3 separate regions of the Homo sapiens genome follow, and all the other regions are linked to region 3. Evidence: promoter capture Hi-C in 16 types of primary human blood cells and fetal thymus (Javierre and others, 2016). All regions are on one chromosome and are shown on one strand. The core of a region is centred on a gene start or on the middle of the fragment in contact, and the rest is flanking DNA. Distances in the headings are between cores, read along the strand shown. Region 1 has its middle 180 kb from the start of LINC01821. Region 2 has its middle 180 kb from the start of LINC01790. Region 3 holds the start of DNAH7 (dynein axonemal heavy chain 7).

Evidence for each region. Contacts are between HindIII fragments. The CHiCAGO score rates a contact against its expected background, and 5 or more counts as called.
Region 1: a contact is called between a fragment that was not itself captured here and the fragment with the promoter of DNAH7 in region 3, in 1 of 17 cell types (M2 macrophages). The highest score is 15.3, in M2 macrophages.
Region 2: a fragment that was not itself captured here is called in contact with the fragment with the promoter of DNAH7 in region 3 in 1 of 17 cell types (total CD4 T cells); the score reaches 5.9 in total CD4 T cells.

Annotation. Positions count from the first base shown.
Region 1 is chr2:194,166,142-194,169,381 of GRCh38, forward strand. No RefSeq gene overlaps it. Among named protein-coding and RNA genes, the nearest start is that of LINC01821, 180 kb to the right of the region's middle. The HindIII fragment of the contact is 683 bases long and covers 1,587-2,269 here.
Region 2 is chr2:194,547,808-194,550,845 of GRCh38, forward strand. No RefSeq gene overlaps it. Among named protein-coding and RNA genes, the nearest start is that of LINC01790, 180 kb to the right of the region's middle. The HindIII fragment of the contact is 2,421 bases long and covers 240-2,660 here.
Region 3 is chr2:196,067,100-196,070,111 of GRCh38, forward strand. It overlaps DNAH7 (dynein axonemal heavy chain 7), which reads right to left and starts at 1,738. Exons shown (of 65, transcript NM_018897.3): 1 at 1,598-1,738. The coding sequence starts at 1,612. RefSeq lists enhancers at 1,030-1,079, 1,560-1,649. The HindIII fragment of the contact is 14,129 bases long and covers 1-3,012 here.

The DNA of each region.
Region 1 (3,240 bases), core at 678-3,177, 1.9 Mb before region 3:
AATATTGAATCATAATTTTAAAAATGAACTCTATTATTCTTTAATAATGGCTTTAAAAATAATGATTAAAAATGTTCATTACCTATTATTGTAGGATTTTTCTGAAAATAATTTTGTTGTCTAGAGATAGAGGAGAGTTAATAACACCTGCATTGAATCTTCTATATATGCCACTGAAAGGGACACATACAACACAACACACACACACACAGACACACATACACAGAAACACACTTTATCTACTTAGTACATTTTAAGTTTCTTGACCTAAAAACCTGTGGACCACACATAGACCACAGTGAATTCTGCAAAAGAAAAATTAGTAGGTAGGACACATTGGCATATAAACAACTGACTCCCTTTGGCAGCTGCCTAAATTCACCATGTTCCTTCATAATCCACTGAACCATTATGACCTAAAATTAGAAGACAATTATTGAGCTCTTACAGTGTAAAACATAAATTAAAATTTCCAAAGAAACATACGTTAAGCCATACATTAATTTTAAAAATGTATTTATCTAGGATGACTATAGCTAACAGTAAAGCAGTGATTATTACAAATAGTTAAAAGAATATCCCCAGAAAGAAATGATAAATGTATGAGGTGATGGGTTACTAACCACCCTTATTGGATAATTTTATATATATATATATATATATATATATATATATATATATATAATATTATATATATGTGTGTATCCAAACATCAAATTATACCGAATAAATAAGTACAATGACAATGATCAATTTAGAAAAAGAGAAAGGTATACTAGAGTTTCTTCTCTCACTGTTCATATATACCAAGGAAGTGCAATGTGAGTACATAGCCAGAAGGTGGCCATCTGCAAGCCAGGAAGAGAGCCCTTATTGAAACCAACCATACTGGCACCTTGATCTTGGATTTTCCAGGCTCCAAAACTGTGAAAAATATAGGACAGTTGTTTAACTTACTCAGTCTATGGTATTTTGTTATGGCAGCCTGAGTTGGCTAAGACATATATTTTACCACAATAACAATTATTTTTAAAAATTGTGAAAATAACGTGCACATGATTTTAAATGTAAACTAGCAGCAAAAATACAATTAAAAAAGAATGTATTGATCTAATTGGTAGAGAAATAAATCACACAAATGTCACATATATATATATAAAATATGTGATGTATTCATATATATGCACATACATATGCCTGTTCATATATGTGTGTATATGTGTGTTAACTTATCTGGAAATTTTAATTTACATTTTACAAGAGCTCAATAATCATCTTCTAATTTTAGGTCACAATGGTTTGGTGCATTATAAAGGAACATGTGTGCATATATATATATGCACACACATATATATATATAACACACACACATTGAGATCAGAAAACGTATTTATTATTTTCTGCTGTGTTAGATAAATTTACAAAGATAAGATAGAAGTTGACCTTCTTCATCAGGTTTTGTGGAATTTTAAAAACTAGAAAATTTTTGACATGCAATCACCCATTCCATGTTATATTATTTTTTAATGATTGTATGTCTTATCTCTTCATTTAAAAAATATTCAAAGGTTAGGGACTTTGTTTTAAGCTTTGTATTCTCCACAGCATTTAAACAGTTTTAAATACTATTTGCTAAGGATTAAAATAATGCATTGCACAACAGTTGCTAGTTTTTATTATCATTATCAAGAGAGATGCAGAATAATTATTCAGGTAAAGCTATTTCAATGTCGACTATAATGCAGGCCTTTGATTCAGAAGTCCTAGGTGTTTTCTTACTATTATTCATAGGCTCTTTACACCTTATATAATCTCACCAGGTACAGGGAATATTTGCTATTAACATAGCACCTCAGGCTGTGCTGTGACATAAATATACTTCCATTTCCATATATTTTCTAGATTATTCAATTATTGTGATTTTCAGAAGAAATAAATAACAAGTGTAGGCTCAATTCTCTTGAGGGTGATTATCCTTAGACAATAGTTACTAGAAATTCATTGTGTTGAGAAGATAGGAGATATATTTACATTCAAATATGTTTGATGTTAGCCTATATTAGTTTTCTTGATCTTTCTATTAAAATACTGAAGATTTTATATTATTTACTTAATGACACTTCTTAATGACAGCTTAGCCACTTCTGCCATTGTATAAATTTGGTATTCAATGAGTAGATTGTTTTGTTCCTAAAATATTTTTTAAAATATATTTATTTTAATTTGTATATACTTTGACAGTTTTTTTAAAAAGCCATTTTATAATTAAAGCTTAGTGGAGTTCACCTAGTTTTTGGTTTGGGTAAAAATTCTTTTCACTAGGTCATACAAACAGGTTATCTTCAATTTCATTATTAATGCTTTTTCTGTCAACACTGTGTCTGAGAATATATACATATATATATATATATATATACTCAGAATATATATATATATACTCAGAATATATATATATACTCAGAATATATATATATATTCTCAGAATATATTCTGAGAATATATATACTCAGTATATATGTATATATACTGAGTATATATATATATACTCAGTATATATATATATATATATATACACACACACATATATATCACGCTCCATCACCCACTGCAAAATGAACTACTTTTTAAATATTTTAGTTCTTATTTTAACTATCTACACTTTTCAATTAATGGTTGTTTTTCAATTTTTGGTTTTATCAAGTTTTCATAAGCTCTAACCAAAGAGGGCTTTAAGGTTCGCCTCAGCTAACTAAACTTTAAACAGGTTCCTTTCCAAATTTAGACTTCAATCTCCATTTTCTTATTTACTTTAGTAAACTTGAAATTGTGAATTCTTTCTCTGCAGCTTTCAGATATAAATCTTCTCCAAGTCTCTTACTAGTTTTACAACCCAGGAATGTCTTTCTTAGAAACTTAGGAGCCACTCTTTTGAAATATAATCATCAAGAAAGATAGTGTTACTTTATTTCAGTCTCTGTCAGATTGGAGGAGCATCACTTTAATAAGCAATGATTAGCAAACATATATGGCCTGATCACACTGACCAGCCTGCCCTCATTCGTTTTTCATTAGTTCACCTCACTGTTAAAATCACCCACCCTTTGTTCCAGCAGAGTTGTGTTCAGTATCTCTCCCCTAACACAATTTTCTTGAGTAAAGTTTTTATTGCCTGTTTAGCTCATTCTGTGAAAATTTACTTTGACACTCACATAATCCTTATTTTGATAATTGAATAATGAC
Region 2 (3,038 bases), core at 200-2,699, 1.5 Mb before region 3:
AGCCAGGATGGTCTCGATCTCCTGACCTCGTGATCCGCCCGTCTCGGCCTCCCAAAGTGCTGGGATTACAGGCGTGAGCCACCGCGCCCGGCCGAGAAAGTCAATATTCTAGTAATTCATTGCACATCCCAGAATATTAATTCTTTTATTCTGAAAATATCAAATGAGTGACCATGTGTACTGAGCTTGGTGCAAGGTGAACAATATATGCGGAAAGGACAAAGTTCGTGCCTTCATGAAGCTTACCGCCTAGTGGAGTAGTTACACAACACAAACAAACATGTACTTACAAAATGTGACATACCATATGAAAATAAATAAAACACTAAGTGGATTGGTCGCTCTCTCTCTCTCTTCCAAGCCATCTTTTTCCTTTTTCTTCATCTATCAATATATATCTATCAATATTTTTGGCAGAAGCTAGAAAAAGGCTTTTTTTTTTTTTTTTTTTTTTTTGAGACTCAATCTCACTCTGTCACCCAGGCTGGAGTGCAGTGGCATGATCTCGGCTTACTGCAACCTCCGCCCCTTGGGTTCAAGCAATTCTCCTGCCTCAGCCTCCCTAGTAGCTAGGATTACAGGCACATGATACCACGCCAGGCTAATTTCTACATTTTCAGTAGAGACGTGGTTTTGCCATGTTTGCCAGGCTGGTCTCAAACCCTGACCTCAAGTGATCCACCTGCCTAGGCCTCAGAAAGAGCTGGGATTACAGGTGTGATCCACCGCATCCAGCTGGAAAAGACATTTTCAGTGGCCCATGTTCTTAACTGATACTGAATTCTCAAAAAGCCAACCATGCAAGTGACAAAGGAAAGAACATTCCTGGCAGAAGAAATAATATGTGGAAATGTCCTATTGTAGATCAAAACTTGATTCGAGTCGCTCTCCCTCTTTCTTTTGACTTTATCCAGTTAGAATAATTTCTTTTATTTGCTGAAATTCCAATAGCTCTACTCTGTTAATTCTGAGGTAAGAAACAGTCCTCCAGTTTTGTTATGTAACAATCAACGTCTCATTTCAATAACTGGACATCATACAAAATGTTATTCAAAATAAAAATTAAATTAATGTTATTTTTTCCCCTTTCCCTTGTTCAGGCCACTTCAGATTGGAAGCCCACACCTACTCCAGGCTGTTTTCCAACTGGAAAATGATGTGATGGGGTAATCCTGCTCTCTATCTGTATCTCACCAGCAGAATGCATACTCTATCAGAAAGGTTCTTTGGTGGAATGTATATTCTCTGTCCTGGAGCTCCCCAAGTGCCCACTGTCTCTGACCTCAAAGTCCAGGCCTTTCAATTGGATGACCCAAGACTACCCCACTGTGATTCTTTCTCCTGAGTGATCTACACTTTCTTTTGTGGCAACACTCACTACATCCTGACCCTACCGTCTCTAAGATATGGTGCAGGTGCTTCTGCACTCTTCTGGCTGCCAAACCAGTCAGCCCTTTGCTTGCTTTCTAGATTTCTAAAGGCAGGATTCAGATATAATGCTACAGTTTGTCTAAACCCAATAAATAAACTGTTCTCTCCCCAGGCCTCAGACAAAACAAACATGATTATCTTCCTTCTGTATGTCAGTAAGGTGAGCAACACCATTCTCCCCTGAATGAACACACTAAAATTCCTGGGTGTTGTCCTTGATACTCTGTTTTTCTTTATCCTTCATCATATCTTTAAGTTCAGCCTGTCACAAACATTCAATGACACCATTGATATCTAGTACATGTCAACCTCTTTCTTCCCTGAATGCACACAAAAGCCTCCTAACTTGTCTTTTTCTGTCAGTTCAGTTTTCCTGTCATTTAATACTGTTTCTTCTCTTGCTACTTGAGTTATTTTCCTAAGTGCAAATCTATTGTCATTTCCTTGTATAAAATTTTAATGGCTCTTTATTCCAAAACTAGAGATTGAACCGTTCTCAGTTTTTCTATGTCGTTGTATTTCCTGTCCTGAATAACCCATCCCTCATATTCCCTCTTGCCAATTATGTGGCTCACTCCTTCTCACACTTTAATGTTGATTTAGACTACAGAACTCTGTCTGACCCCTTGCTCTACTCTCAAAGCTCCCCTTTACTTCAGTCTAATTCTCTTATCATGCACTAAAGCCATCATTTATATTTGCTTTCTTTTTATAACTTAATAATCCTTAATAAGTCATCACTTCCTTGACAGGAAGAATCATGTCTTATTTTCATCATGGTATCAAGAGTATACAATACAACTCCTGGCAAACTATTAGTGTTTAACTGATATTTGTGGAATTAATTAATGAGTAGGTGAATAAGTGTAATGGTGGGTAACTCAGTATCTAGATGAAAAACACTGTCTCAAGAGCTTTCTCTTTGCCAAGACTCCAGTCCCAATTCCGAGCCTTTAACACTCTCCGCTTTAATTTGAGGAAAAAATGACTCTGATGGACCAGTTTTGGTCCATTATGTAGTTTCCACTTAATAAATAGAATTAAATAATTTCAATTAAGAAGGCTCATGTGAATACTGACACATTATCAGATACTTAGTTGACTAAAAGTCTTCAAAGGTGCCGTGTCATAGTCAGAGTTCTGGCATTGAGGAGGTTTAAAGAGAGTTCTTATTTACTAAGAGAGTTAGACAGGCAAACCACAGGAGATGGTGCTATCACCTTACATGAAGCTTACATTATACAGAAGGGAGGAAGATACTAGAAGAATAAGTTTTTGAGTTCTATGCAGAAAAATTACATATGGATACAGGAGGGAATTTTATGGAGTGAGAAGTGATAGTCTAAATAAATGGTGAAGGAATCCTTCTCTGAAAATGAGTAAACTATGTGTACATTTGAAGGAAATGCCTCACTGGCAGAGCTATGTACAAAGCAAAGGCTCTGAGGTGCCAGTATATTTAGTATGTTTAAGAAATCACAAAGACAAGCGTGACTGGGACTGAAGGAGGGAGTGAATTAATACAATCCAGAAAACCTAAAATATTTATATTACCTGGCTTTGTTTGAATTCCAATCCCAAATGAATTTGTCAAAGAAATCTGATTT
Region 3 (3,012 bases), core at 488-2,987:
TCATTTCCCAACATCACTTTTATAAAGATGAAGCAAAATTTAGAACTTAACGGCTGGTGGGTTTTTTGTGGATACTTTTTAGTTGTAGATGGGTAAGTTAGGGGAATTGTGAAAAACAGCTATTGAGAAATACCATTGGAAATGTGGTAAAAGTGTATTTTAAACTCTAACAACGTAGGATATGGTTCAAGATCTGGCCGAAGACTAACTTGGGCAACAAGCAAAGAAGCTGCTCAATATATAATAATGGTGACAGTAACAAATGTTATTTTTTAAATCTGATTACATTAATATCATGTAGAAAAAAACTAGTAAGATCTATTAAACAATTGCTCAGTGTTTTTGGTTACTTGTATCTGAACTTTTTGTTTTTTGCTTGTCATTTACTCTTTTATTATTAATACCAATACTAATTATACTTTAGCATATGAATCAGTGTCCATTTCTTAGTTCTTAAATTATACTTATTTTTTTAAAAAGGTTCAAACCAAATTTTCTTGAGCATTTCAGGTATTAATTACTTATTTGATGAACTAACCAATCAGGATCTTCACATAGTTCTGTTAGTAATGTACAACTCAATGGATAGGAGACTAAATCCGTTTTAATACTGTTTCCACAATAAATTCTAACACTACCGAAAAAAGCATTATAAAGCAATAAAAAAGAAATAATTACCGTTTAATATTGTTTAAAAGCTAAATGAAATTTGCAGGCTTAAAAACAACTGTTTTTCTTCCAGGAGGTTTATAGAGTCCTTTTCCTTATTCATCACTACGTAGAAAGCTAGAGTTATTTTCTAGCTAGCCAGAATAATGACCACGTTTAATATCTTCCCATTCTGTGCTGATATTAAGACGACTGACCATTGTTCTGCCTTTCTGTTAGTTGCTCTTAAGTTCAATAAAGAAAGAATTCTTAGAAGAAAAAGGAGAGAAAGACAGAAAGGAAAAAAACGAGAAAAAAAGAGAAAGAAAAGCAGCTATTGCAAAGTGCATCTTTTATCACATACCATGGAATATCATCTTAAGAAGTGCCATATGTCACTTACCAAGGCCTTTCATGTATAGTATAATATTGTATAGTTATGGTATGGCATGGTATCTAATTTGAAATTGACAACAACCTCAAAAAGAAGAAAAGTTGTTCTGATGTTTCCCCCGCTCTGCATAAGAGGTGGGAGAACTAAGGCTTACAAAGACTAAGAGATTTGTCCAAAGTCACATGGCTAGGAGTTGGCTTCGATTCCCACCTTAGAACCCAAACCCGCTGCAACTCCTCGCAGAGCCGCCTCTCACCCAAGCACACCGCCATTAGCACTCTGGGGGTGCTCTGGGCTGTGGCTCCCCCTGCTGGCGCGCCGCTAGGCGGCTAGGTTTGGTTGTTATGACGACCAAGGGCAAACAGCTGGGAAGGGAACTTATAAGGGCATTCACGGAAAGCGCTCAGTAACCCAGGCCACAAGTGGGGTGAAGGAAGCTGTACACCGCGGAGTCACAGCTGGGGAGTTCGCTAGGCAGGAGGGGCTTCCACCACTTCCGAAACGCCTGGGAAGCGTCGCGGCGGCGGCGAGCCTGGCAAAGAGCAGCCCTCTCACCTGCTCACTGCTCATGGCTGCGAGGACGCGCTGGCCTCACCGGTGCTTCTGGGTTGCTCCTGCCCGCGGAACCCCTAGGACGATAGAGGCAGGGCCCCGGGACTTGCAGCGGTCTCAGCTCCCTCCGCACCAGAGCCGTCTAGCGTCCGGGCAGCGTTTGTTGCTAAGCAACGGGCCCGCGCAGGTTCCATTTCCGGTCATCTGTTCCTTCTGGGGCTGGACCCGGAAGCTGGCGCGCGGTCCCGCAAGAGGAGCTTTCTGGGGCGCTGCTGCCAGTGTTGTGAGGTCTAAGGTGTGCGTTGAATAACCAAAGACACTGGGTGGGTCTCCTCCAATATCCTCTGATTACTGAAGTAGATCCTCACACTTCCGCACCCTCCTTCTAAATAAGCCGGATGCCCAGGACTGCTGCCTTAACCCCTCAGAGGTCTCGGAGAAACACTGGAATGAAATGATTACAGATTTCATTGCTAATGTGGGCGAGTGGAGTAATGCGAGGCAGGATCCAGTAAACACCTTTCATTATTCATGTGCTTCCAACCCCTGTGCTGTTGACTCTTCCCACACTCCAGAAAACTATCCTTTGGAAGAATACCAGTAAAGGAACCTTCCAACAATTCTTGAAACCAACATTCACAGATGGTTTACTACATGAAAAGTGGTGTGCTAAGCACAAATGTGACCAAGACATCCATTCGCCACAGGCTGGGGGGTGTCCAAGCCAAGCACTTACCGTGTAGTGGAGACGGTGCTAAGAATGGCAGTCCTCAGTGAGAACATAAAGCACCAACTAATTTTCTCATGGAGGGCATGGAAGGGATGTGGAAGCTGAAATGTGAAGGAAGAAGAAATGCCAGGCAAAGAATGCCGGGCAAAAAGCAGGTCACATACAAAGGCCTGAGACAAGAGAGCATAGCTATTGGAAGCAGTGAAAATGGTTCTGAGAGGTCGATGAGTAGGTTTGGATAAAGGGGATTGGAGCCAGTCTAGAGAAGAAGCTGAGGTGATAAGCAGGTGATATATCTTAAAGGACCCTATAAAAGGGCAGGAGTTTGGATGTCAAAAGCAACTGACCTCCACTGAAAAGTTTTATGCTAAGAAATGGCAGAATTCCATCCTGAAATTAACAAGGAACCCCAAGGGGTCATAAATAGCCAAAACAATCTTGAAATTAAAGAACAAAGTTGGAGTACTCACACTTCTTGATTTCAGAACTTACTACAAGACTATAGTGACCTTAACAATTTATTTTCAACAAATGATGCTGGGGAAACTAAATGTCCATATGCGGAAAAAAATGCAGTTGGACCTTTACCTAAAAACATCATATACAAAATTATCTCAAAATTGATCAAAGATGTAACTGTAAGGTCTTAAACTATAAAACTCTTAGAAGAAAACTTAGAAGAATCGCT